Linked DNA regions of Homo sapiens: region 1 is linked to region 2. Evidence: promoter capture Hi-C in 16 types of primary human blood cells and fetal thymus (Javierre and others, 2016). All regions are on one chromosome and are shown on one strand. The core of a region is centred on a gene start or on the middle of the fragment in contact, and the rest is flanking DNA. Distances in the headings are between cores, read along the strand shown.

Evidence for each region. Contacts are between HindIII fragments. The CHiCAGO score rates a contact against its expected background, and 5 or more counts as called.
Region 1: a fragment that was not itself captured here is called in contact with the fragment with the promoter of FAM241A in region 2 in 1 of 17 cell types (fetal thymus); the score reaches 6.8 in fetal thymus.

The regions. Positions count from the first base shown.
Region 1 is chr4:110,188,023-110,194,188 of GRCh38, reverse strand. All of the region lies in intron 1 of ELOVL6 (ELOVL fatty acid elongase 6), which reads left to right. Among named protein-coding and RNA genes, the nearest start is that of ELOVL6, 7.5 kb to the left of the region's middle. The HindIII fragment of the contact is 3,393 bases long and covers 365-3,757 here.
Region 2 is chr4:112,142,899-112,149,370 of GRCh38, reverse strand. It overlaps FAM241A (family with sequence similarity 241 member A), which reads right to left and starts at 3,917. Exons shown (of 2, transcript NM_152400.3): 1 at 3,638-3,917. The coding sequence starts at 3,790. RefSeq lists an enhancer at 3,007-3,146 and a silencer at 3,487-4,136. The HindIII fragment of the contact is 3,530 bases long and covers 3,058-6,472 here.

The DNA.
Region 1 (6,166 bases), core at 812-3,311, 2.0 Mb after region 2:
TAAGAGCTGACTTAAGTTGGAAGTGCTGCTAGCCAGGGAGCAAAATCACCTGGTGATTGCTAAGGCGACATATAATTCATTGAGTGAGAAGGGAAGCTGGGCTCTCTCTGCCTTCTCTTTCAGCAGCCTGCCAGGTTTGTGCTAACAGCAGTGGATGCTAGTTGCTCCAGTTGTAATTGTCTAGCCAATGATGATTATCTTCTGATGTCGGCTGACACGGTGCCCACCAATAGGAAAGCAGGAGGCCTGTGCTGACTGCTGTAACATTATGTATGTGAGGTGACGTCTTCAAAGGGCTTGCCTAGAACTTCATGAAACCCTCCCCCTCTCCTGGCATTCTCCACACATCCAGCCTTTCAAAGCTTTATATATTTTTCTGACTTTTCTCCCCACTCACTCCCTTGGTGGTGTAAAAGGGTTTACTTGTTTTAACATTTTGTATTCTGTATTATAGAGTCTATAAGATAGTATAGGAATTTTAAGAATTAAATGCTGTTCAGCTGAGGAAGCCTTTTTATTCACAAATTTGTTTTTACCAAAGGTAAAAATGGAGTGAAACATTTTATTTTATTTTGTTTTATTTTTGAGACAGGGTCTCACTCTGTTGCCCAGGCTGGAGTGCAGTGGCACAATCTTGGCTCACTGCAACCTCTGCCTCCGGGTTCCAGTGATTCTTATGTCTCAACCTCCCAAGCAGCTGGGATTACAGGTGCCTGCCATGACACCAAGCTAATTTTTGTATTTTTAGTAGAGATGGGAATTCACCGTGTTGGTCAGGTTGGTCTTGAACTCCTGACCTCAAGTAATCCGCCCACCTCGGCCTCCGAAAGTGCTGAGATAACAGGCTTGAGCCACTGCAACCGGCCGTGAAACATTTTAAAAGGAGTTGTACATCTATATCTTTTTTGTAGGTGAAGTTTGGAAAGTAACACGATGTACAATTTCATGATTAAAGAACATAAAAAGCACTAAAAACCTGTGTTAGCATTTAACTCAAATATAGCAGCATAAAAAATATAGCAGCATAATGTTAATGAAACTGTTCAAATGCAGACATAGTATTTGGCTGTTGTTTTTCATTTAGTGAGGATTGCTTTGAATTGCTTCCTGAAGTCTTCCTTGCAACCTTCTACATTCATTTGTAAGAAAAATGGCTGGAAAACAGTGCATCTGTGACTATGGAACAGAGTAGGCCAGAGTTTCATTTCATCATTAACATTGCAGCAACAAATTTGGTCAGCTCTGTAGGAATATAGTGTGTCTATATTGTACTCATGTCACTTGCTGTTTATTTTGAGGTATCACAGTTCATATTGATTTAGGATTAAAACTTGTGTGAGGATCATAACATGACATTCAATAATTTTTAGAAAGCACTGGGATGTAGGCATATGTACTAGGTTAAGAGTGAGAAGAATGAGAAAATACATAGAGAAAAAACGTGTAATCTGTGTGGGGTCCTAGAAAATAATGTAAAGTTGTGCTGGAGCTTTGATATGAACTTTCATGTATCTTTTAATAAATTATAAATATTCATGCAATTCTTGTTTAGGATTCCAAAGGATGAAAGCCAGCTTAATGCAAAATATTTTATGATTATATTATCCATCTGTGTATTTGTACTAGTTATAATTAGTGCTTAAAATTTTTTCATGAAGTCTTTTTCACATTGGAAGTAAAATTTTGTGATCTTCAGAGGATTGCCTGTTGCTTTTTTGTTTGAGGGTGATTCTAAATGTGTCAAAGTGTATAACATTGGAACTTAATGAAACTTTTCAAATGCAGACATAGTATTTCACTGTTGTTTTTCCTTTAGTGAGGATTGCTTTAAATTTCTTCCTGAAATCTTCCTCGTAACCTTCTGCGTGCATTTGTAAGAAAAATGGCTGGAAACTTCAAAGTCAACTTATTCCATATCTAAGAGTTGCCTTATATACTTCCTTGAAAGAAGAATCTTTCTTTTTCTTTTTTTTCTTTCTTTCTTTTTTTTTTTTTTCTTGGATGGAGTTTTGCCCTTGTTGCCCAGGCTGGAGTGCAATTGTTCCATCTCGGCTTACTGCAACCTCTGCCTCCTGGGTTCAAGTGATTCTCCTACCTCAACCTCCTGAGTAGCTGGGTTTACAGGCATGCGCCACTACACCCGGCTGATTTTTTTGTATTTAGTAGAAACGAGTTTTCACCATGTTAGTCAGGCTGGTCTCGAACTCCTGACTTCAGGTGATCCACCTACCTCGGCCTCCCAAAGTGCTGGGATTACAGGTGTGAGCCACCATGCCCGGCCAGAGGAATCTTTCAGCTTAGATAGTGGAAGAGTTATGAGGGGGACGGAGGTTTTGAAATACTTAGGGGGATATACAATAACCATCTAATCAATTTTCTTTTTCTTTTCTTTTTTTTGAGCCTGGTCTTGGCTCACTGCAACCTCTGCTTCCTGGGTTCAAGCCTCAGCCTCCTGAGTAGGTGGGATTACAGGTGCCCGGCCCCCCATCTAATCAGTCTTTAGACAACAAAGTAAAATGAGTGTGGCACCATTCTGGCAATTCAGGAATTTATCTTGGCTTAAGTGATCTGAAATATTTCAGGTCCAAGTATTTTATTTTCTGAAATGAGTTAACCAAACATTGTCTTAATGATTAACTTAATTTTTCACATATGGACACAGGTGAGCCAAACTGTCCTTTATTAATAGGAACCAGACATCATTCTACAAAGTTTGCCTCAGCCCTCCCTTTACTCTTTATGTAGCTCACATCCACCCGCTCCCATTTACTTCTCATTTATCTTTTTTAGGAGGGTTTAGGGAAAGTTACCTGTACCACATATGTCATTTCTGTTGATAACCCTAGGTAATCTGAGTGAAACTATGACTTGGCTATATTGTAATGTTAAAACTCATAACTTCATTCCTTTATCCAGATTCTGATTGTACATGTATTCAGGCAGGTACAAATGTTGGCATAGTTATTGAGGTTTCTGAGAACTTTAAAAAAACCCAGCATCTCTAATTATATTTACCCTCCAATAATTTATTTTAGAGATACATGGGTCCTTTTTTAAAAAGTATTGTATGGGTCGGGTATGGTGGCTCACACCTGTAATCCCAGCACTTTGGGAGGCCGAGGCAGGCGGATCACTTGATGTCAGGAGTTCGAGACCAGCCTGGTCAAAGTGGCGAAACCCTGTCTCTACAAAAAATACAAAAATTAGCTGGTCATGGTGGTACGCACCTGTAGTCCCAGCTACTCTGGATGCTGAGACACAAGAATGGCATGAACCTGGAGGCGGAGGTTGCAGTGAGCTGAGATTATGCCACTGCAATGCAGCTTGGGCAACAGAGCAAAACTGTGTCTCAAAAAAAACACAAAAATTGAAAAAAAAAAAAGTGGCCGGGCATGGTGGCTTATACTTGTAATCCCAGCGCTGTGGGAGGCTGAGGTGGGTGGATCACTTGAGGTCAGGAGTTCGAGACCAGCCTGGCCAACATGGTGAAACCCTATTTCTACTAAAACTACAAAAATTAGCCGGGCGTGGTGGCGGGCGCCTGTAATCCCAGCTACTCCAGGGGCTGAGGCAGGAGAATCGCTTGAACCCAGGAGGCCGAGGTTCCAGTGAGGCGAGATTGCACCATTGCACTCCAGCCTGGGCAACAGAGTGAGACTCCGTCTCAAAACAAAACAAAACAAAAAAAGTATTGCCCAAGAGTAAAGAATATGAATTTGTAATTTTAAGTTGGTTGTGCAATAGTTATCCCAAAGCTTGGAACCATGTCAGTCATCTAAGGTCAAGCCTACACATTTATCATGATTCCTTTCTGCATTGAGTGTTTGCGACTTTTAGTTTTAAGGTTCCTATTACTAGGAAACCCTTTGCTGAGTTAGTTGCCCACTGTGAACTTACTGAGATTTAACTTTAAGTCTTTACTTTGTACAAAAAAAAAGTACAGGAGAAAAAAGACTTACACTTACCTTTGCTAAGATAAATTTGCTGAGATAAATTAGACATGCTGATTGTAAGTAGTTTTGCTAGAAAATCACTCATAGTTTTGTAATACTTTTATTTACAGGGATTCATATTTCAGTTTTTTTTTTCTTGCTAAAACTTTTATAGAAGAGTTCCTAGTTGTGATATAAGGAAAGTTTTATTGATGAAATATATTTTGGGGAGGGAGATCTACCTCCTCAAAACACACATGAGGTTTATAATCCAATTTTTTTTTTTTTTTGAGATGGAGTCTGGCTCTGTCGCCCAGGCTGGAGTGCAGTGGCATGATCTCGGCTCAGTGCAAGCTCTGCCTCCCGGGTTCACACCATTCTCCTGCCTCAGCCTCCCGAGTAGCTGGGACTACAGGCGCCCACAATCACACCTGGCTAATTTTTCTATTTTTAGTAGAGACGGGGTTTCACTGTGTTAGCCAGGATGGTCTCGATCTCCTGACCTTGTGATCTGCCCACCTCGGCCTCCCAAAGTGCTGGGATTACAGGTGTGAGCCACTGCGCCAAGCCCTATAATCCTATTTAAAGTGAAACAAGTAAACAAGTATAACTTCATTTTCTTCTTTTCTCTCTCTCTCTCTCTTTTTTTTTTTTTTTTTTTTTTGAGACAGAGTCTTGCTGTGTCTCCCAGTCTGAGTGCAGTGGCATGATCTTGGCTGTTAGTTCACTGCAACTCCCACCTTCTGGGTTCAAGCAGTTCCCCTGCCTCAGCCTTCTGAGTAGCTGGGATTACAGGCACCTGCCACCACACCTGCCTAATTTTTGTATTTTTAGCAGAGACGGGGTTTCACCATGTTGGCCAGGCTGGTCTCGAACTCCTGGCCTCAAGTGATCCGCCCACCTCGGCCTCCCAAAGTTTTGGGACTACAGGCGTGAGCCACTGCGTCTAGCCTCTCTCTCTCTTTTTTAAATAGAGACAGGGTCTTGCTTGTCACCCAGGCTGGAGTGCAGTGTCACAATCATACTTCACTGTAATCTCAAACTCCGCTTCTTGGTCCAAGCGATCTTCTTGCCTCAGCCTCCCAAGTAGCTGGGATTACAGGCACGCACCACCTTGCCCAACTAATTTTTTTATTGTATTGGAGAGATGGGGGTCTTGCTATGTTGCCCAGGCTGGTTTTGAACTGTTGGCCTCAAGTGATCCTCCCATCTCAGCTTCCCAAAGTGCTAGGATTACAGGTGTAAACCACCACACCTAGACAGCAGGGTAGATTTTCTTCATTCAGGAGCAATGATACTAACAGTTAATACATGGTTACCTGATTGCAGGCATCCTTTTATAATGTTTTACTTTTTTTTTTTTTTTTGAGACCGAGTTTCACTCTTGTTGCCCAGTGGAGTGCAATGGCATGATCTCGACTCACCGCAACCTCTGCCTCCCAGGTTCAAGCAACTCTCCGCCTCAGCCTCTTGAGTAGCTGGGATTACAGGCATACGCCACCATGCCTGGCTAATTTTTTTTGTATATTTAGTAGAGATGGGGTTTCTTCCATGTTGGTCAGGCTGGTCTCGAACTCCTAACCTCAGGTGATCCTCCCACCTCGGCCTCCCAAAGTGCTGGGATAACAGTCATGAGCCACCGCGCCTGGCCAATGTTTTACGTACTTTAACTGTTAAACCCTTGCAGCCACCCTTTATGATCTTTTGCACGATGGACAACTCAGGAAGGGGAGTTGGGATTTGCATGTAGGAATCAGAAAAGGAAAACTGGGTTCCAGGCTTGAATAAGGCTTGGATGGCTGGTGTGATGATGAGGGGTGTGTCACAAGGCCCCAATCATCCTCTTATTTGAATATTAATATAATATTCAATCAGAAAAACAATGCACTTGAAAACTTGGCTGCACTGGAAACGTGTCAGGTATCTGTGGTTTTAGTCAATGATCTCACAAATGTCTCTTTTGTTAATAATTTTCACTGGGTGGATCCTGAATACTTAAGGCCAGAATAAAGCTTTGGCCTATGAAATATTTACTGTCTGCTCTGTGATATTAATTTCTTGCACTCAGCTTGGTTCTAGACCCTGGGAATTTGTGTTTCCATCTGATCTGCAGCCAGACTTTCTTCCCAGCAGGTTTTAGTGTAGCTACTTGTAAATAGCCACCCACTGTTGACAGTAAAATAAAAATATGTGGGTTGGGGATATCCCTATTCTTGAAGGTCAGCTCCTACAAT
Region 2 (6,472 bases), core at 2,668-5,167:
ACAACCTTTTGTAAAAGAAGACACAAAATTATATTTATATTAAAACATATTAAAAATACATGTGTGGCTGGGCACAGAGGCTCAGACCTGTAATCCCAGTACTTCGGGAGGCTGAGACGGGAGGATTGCTTGAGGCTAGTAGTTTGAGATTAGCCTGGGCAACATAGCAAAACCCTATCTCAAAAAAAAAGTGTGTATATATGCATATACACATAGACAAATGAATATACTGTAGTAATACCAAGTTTCATATTTGATATCAAAATATTTGATATCAAAATCCCAAAATAGAGTGGGATTTCAAAGGCTTTTTTCTTCTTTAGATCTTTCTATAGTTCTAATTTTCCAAAGCACACATTACTTTTATAATCATAAAGACGTTAAAGCTAGAGTTAATAATTCGAAAGTCAATCTAAGGATAATGGGACTTCCCTATTCTCTAGGTAAGAGGGTCATGTTAGGTTATTTCAGATTGTGAGTGACCTGTACATTGTGCCACATCTAAGCAGATGCTATTGACATTTAAGGCATATAATAATGGACTAGAGATGTTTAGCCTTTCAGCTATGCATCAGGGCACAGAAACTCTTACATAAAGCCACCTGGCATTCACCCTCATGAACATACTTGGATCATCTCTCATACACACAATTACCAACACATATATGGAATAGCTGTGTCCTGTCCCTTCAGTTTCTTGGACATTCCCTGAAATTGCTTCTTTCCCTTGCTTATCTCTCTTTAGACACCTGATCCTATTTCAAACCTGGCACAGTTTCTTCATCTACAGGACTTGATTCATTCTCCCAAGGCCTCCTTTCTTAAGTGACTTGATTTTAACCAGGCATCCTTTGTCAATCGCCCTACCTGGAAAGACTCAGGCCAGAATGACAGAAGAACCTTCATTTTTTGCTCAAATGGAGTAGCATCTAAAGACAAATTGTTAAAAATGATGCAGACAATATCTTAACTAGTAATAAAACACCTATGTTAATACTAGGTGTTTTATATATTTCATATATATATGAAATAAGTAACAAAATAAAGATACATTTTGTTCTGGTATTGTAATAACAAGCTGATGAAAGAGCTTTCCAGGTTGAGGAAAAGGAATGAACCTTTCAGACAGAAGTGGAAAGAAAAATCAGTGAAGGAAGGGATGTATGTGGACGAGGATTTAGCTTGAGAAATAGCCCAAGAAAGAAACCTCCATCAAATTATTAGGAAAGGGCAAACTCTGTGAGGGGAATAGAAATAGAAAGGGACTTAATACAGAAAATTAGGTGTTGACAAAATCATTGAAAGAGCTAGAGGAGCACAAGTCAGGTGCCTCTGGAGCTATGGTGTTCAAGAGCATACAACCATAGCTCTTTTCTGGGTTAAAAGGAGCGCCTCTGCTAGCTCCTGCCTCTAATTTCCTCTCAATACCCATGAGGCTATCCATGACTCCGGAACACGAAGTGAGCGTGCCAAGTAGAAAAGACGGCAGGAAGATGGCCTCTGTCTCATTTCCAGCTAATTAGTTTTGGTTCTGTTCCTGTTTATATCATTGTTTTCATGGAAAAGTTCACCTTAAGTTCTAAATCATTAACTTAGAAACCAATCTTTCAAAAATATTCCATTTGTAATCTGGAGTCCTTGTATCCTTAAACCAACCAACAGGACAAACAAAAATCATCTCCCTAAATAAAAACTAAATAAAATGAGTCCTTGGGATATGTTCCATAGTTGTTAATTTCATTTCTTCCTCAAATATCTTTACACATGTAATACTATTTCTACCATCATTACATGGCAATGCATAATTTCATTTACAGAACTTGAAAAAAACTAGAAAACAAGGCTTTGTGATAACATTACCAAGAAACGTTTTATCAGAAAAGCTTGCTTTTTACAACAATGGGTTGGGTTGCACCAATTTTTTGCTTATTTTTGTCTTCTTGACTAATTCTTCTTTGGTGCTAATGTAGTAGGAAATGCCTATCTCCGGTGTGATTTTCAATTATTGTGTATGGGGGCTTAGAATACATTAATAAATCTTGAGGCAAAAACAGAATGATAAAAATAACACTTCAAAGGAGTACAGGAGAATGAACTTTCATGACATTCAATGAAGGAGGCAGGTATGCAAAGTGATATGTTTTCTAAGATGTACTTTTCATTTTTTGTTTTATCCTTTTACTTTGTACCATAAGCAATTTTGGAAAGACCACAACTATTAGTGATGTCTACATAATCATACTAATGAAGTACACAGAAGCTTAAATGAAGTATTTTTATATGCTCCCTTACAACTATTTGAAAATTTACTTTGGAAACCCCTGCTCAAATGCAACCCCTCCCCACCCCCAAAGGAATTCTTGTGCTGTCTTCTTCACTTTTCCAGTTAAGCAATTTAAGTTAGAGGAAATCAAGCCCTTGAGCAAATGAATAGTTAACGGGAAAAACCACTAGGAAGGGAATCCGAAGAACAAGCTACCAAATTATTTGCTTGAGTCACTTTCTCTTATATTGTCACAGATGAAAAATTACACTCCACGTGGTGATCAAACCTAACGCTAAGGCATATTTTGTGTGCCACACAGTATTACTCTGTTTCCTAAGTAACCTATTGAAACAATGTAAGGTATACATCTATTAATGCATTTAGTGATGATACTGGAATTTGTGAAACGTGACAGAAAGGACAGATGAAGAAAGATGAGGAGAGACAGGTATTAATTGTCCTAACAGTACAGGCTGTAATAAAGGCCAATAATCATTTGAATTCCTGCTCCTTAATGTGAGTCTAAAGAGCGGCTTACCTCAGGTATTTGGAAAGTCTAAATACTGTATTTGCTGTAGAAAATTCATCCAACATACAATTCAATTTTTAAAATTAAACCTTTTGCCTAATCTTTAAGATATTTGATGTTATAATGCCCATTATCACACTTTATTTAAATGAGATAAACTCAGAGAGTTTAAAAAATTACGCAACTTCTCTTTTCCCTTACTATGGCTGGCCTCTTATAACCGAAAGCAATATTCTTGCCTCTCCACTTTTTAACTGAAGCTTTGATCTCATCTGTATTTATGAAGAACGTGCTCTGGGAGAGTCCCTGTCAAGACATTCATTGTAACACCCGCTCCTACTCATGCTTTCAGCGCTGCCCGTGGACGGAATCCACCCACACCTTCCAGACACGCTAGGTGTGGGCTCGGAAACGCAAGATGGAGGGCGGGAGGGGAGCCGGCGTCTCCTAAACCTGGCGCAGGGCACGGACTCGAAGTTGAAAAAGAAGTGTTTACAAGTGAGGCTTTTAAATAAATCACCGCTATGGAGGGCATTTCCTCCGAGCCCTGGGCGCCAGCCTGAGAATCCTCTGCCGGACGCCAGGGGACGAACCACGCTGACCCCGCCAGACACGCGACCCCGGGGCCGGCGCTGGCGTCTGCACTCGCGCGACCCCGCCGCTCCTCCTGGGAGCGCCGTCTAACCGCTCCCGGCGACGACTTCCCAGAGCGCCGGGGAGCCAGTGCCCACGCGGGGCAGAGCTGCGGCGCGGCCCGCGGGCCGGGCCCCTTCCCTCCAACGCCGGGCGGGGCTCGCGGCCCCCGACCCGGCCGCTTCGCCGCCGCCCCTCCCCGCGCTCACCTGCTCGCTCTCCTTCGGCCGCTGTCCGCGCCGCCGCGGGCTCGCCCCGGGATCCCACCCGGTCCCTGCCGCCTCCCGCTCCGCCAGCGCGTCCCCGTCCTCGTCGCGTTCCCCGCCGTCGCCGCCCCGCAGCAGCTCCCCGGCTGAGCACATCCCGCAGCCAACTCCTACCGCCCCGGACAGCCGCCGGAGGACCACGCCGCGACGCACCAGGCAGCGCCGCCGCCCGAAGGCTGCCCTGGGATCCGCCGCACCCGCCGCTGACAGGAGCCGCCGGAGCGCGCCCCGCCGGCCTGGGCGCCTGAAGTACCAGCCCGGCCCCTCCTGTCACTGGCTCGCCCAACCCCCGGCCGTCGGGGCGGAGCCGTACAGGGGAGGGGCCAAGACAGGGGGCGGGGCCAACGGTGTGTTGGGGGGCGGGGGTGTGTGTGTGAGATTGAGAGAGAGGCCGACAGACTGAGAGAAGAAGGGTGTTGTGTGAAAAACTATGGACATACACTGCATGAGGGAGATTGTACATGAGAGAGGCTGTGTGTATGTATGAGGGATATTGTGTGTGCGTAAGAGACCGTTAGAGAGTGTGAGAGAGACGCTGAGCGTGATTTGTGTGTGTGTGTGAGAGAGATTCTATATAAAAGAAACTGCGTATAAGAGATTGTATGCACTTTGGGAGGCCGAGGCGGGCAGATAGCTTGAGCCCAGGAGTTGGAGACCAGCCTGGGCAACCCCATCTCTACTAAAAATAGAATTAGGCGGGCGTGGTGGCGGCAGTGTGGTCCCAGCTACTCAGGAGGCTGAGGTGGGAGGATCGTCTCAGCGCGGGAAGTCGAGGCTGCAGTGAGCAGAGATCACACCACTGCACTCCAGCGTGGGCGACAGAACCAGACCCCGTTTCAGAGAGAGAGAGAGAGAGAGAGAGGAGGGGGGGGGGAAAGAGAGAGAGAGAGAGAGAGAGAGAGAGATTGAGATTGTATGTGTATGCAAGAGACTGTGAGAGAGAGATTGTATGAGGGAACAACAGAAACTGAGAGAGATCAAGTGTGAAAGAGAAATTACTTGTGTGAGAGAGCCAGTGCATATATTTAAGAGAGAGCGCATTTGTATAAGAGATTAGTGTGTGTGGGTTTGTATGTGAGAGAGAAACACACACATGCACCCAGTTACACTCTCCAGCAGAGTACCCCTGTTCTTGCCTGAGTATCTGCCCGTCCTTTTCAAGGAAGACACATTTCACTGTCCCTCTTGTTCCTTTAGCCTCCTTTCCTAGTGTCTCACTGAAGGTCTGTGTATTTGTCCCTTTCTGTTGAGTGCTTCCTAGTGTGTGTTGTTTGTTGGAGCCTTGGGTCGTTTGATGGTGTATCAAATGATGTATCTTTCTGTAACTGGGTAAGAATATGTCTTTCTCAGTGGGTGGTGAGGGGAATATATCCAATTGATAATTATTTTTTGTACTACTCCATCCATTTTATTCAAGGAAAATGGAAGGGTGTTTAAATAAAATATCACTTTTTTTTCTGTGTATGCCTTATCTGTACATTGGGAAAACGATGGGTTATTGTACAGGTAAAATACAGAAAAGTAAATATGGAAAGTAAACATGTGTACACATGGAGAAGAGTAAGAGTTATTTGGGATCTTCTATTAAAATGTTTTCAGGCCCAGAGAAGGAATTAAAATAGGCAGAATCTCATAGGCTTATTTTAAAGAAGTTTCCTGTTTTTTGTAGTCAGGAGATTCTCAGTCTTTCTCACACACCCACAATCTCTCATACACACAATCTCTCTCATACACACATGATTTCACATACATACAGTCTCTCTCACACATATACAACCTCGCGCACACACCATCTCTCACACATGGTTTCTCACACATGCCCTCTCTGATTGTCTCTCCTCCACAAACAATCTCTCTAGGGGCCAGAAAATATGCCGTTGGATATCAAAAATTAGAAAGAAAATGAATCTGGTTCATTCCCTTTCTTAAAAGTCTTTAAAACTCCAGAAAAGAGTATTTAATATTATATACATACAATCAGAAACAAATATCACCATGGGAACCCAGTAGCCTTTCTGATGGGCCTCATTTTTTTTCCCCTGAAGGCAACATTTTCATTCTTGGAATTTTGGTTTGGCTATTAGTAGTGTTTCTTATAAAAACCAACTTTTTTTTTTTTTGGCTGGGCGTGGTGGCTCACGCCTGTAATCCCAGCACTTTGGGAGGCCGAGGCAGGCGAATCACAAGGTCAAGAGATGGAGACCATCCTGGCCAACATGGTGAAACCCCATCTCTACTACAAATACAAAAACTAGCTGGGTGTGGTGGCACATGCCTGTAGTCCCAGCTACTAGGGAGGCTGAGGCAGGAGAATCAGTTGAACCCGGGAGGCAGAGGTTGCAGTGAGCCAAGATCACGCCACTACACTCCAGCCTGGTGACAGAGCAAGACTCCGTCTCAAAAAAATAAAAAAATAAAAATCAACTTTTTTGGATAAAACTTTGGAATTATATACAGCAACCCAGAGAACATCAGCTCTTTACTGCCAACCCCATGAACTAAGGCACATTTTGAAGTTCTCCCTCATAGCGTTTGATTGGCAACTTGATAAGCCAAACAACTATGCACTCTTCAATCAGGCTACAGTGAGCAGAAATTCCTTATATATAAGAGGACTCAGAAGGCACAGAGTATTTATATAGCTGGGCAGGTACAATACAGAGGTTAGCTTTGTTCAGCTTAGGGGACAAGTCTTACAAAATTCCTTTAGAGTATACTGTCTGGTCTTTTGTAGATTCCGGCTTCTTGAGTCTTTGAGAAGTGTATTAATTCAGTTTT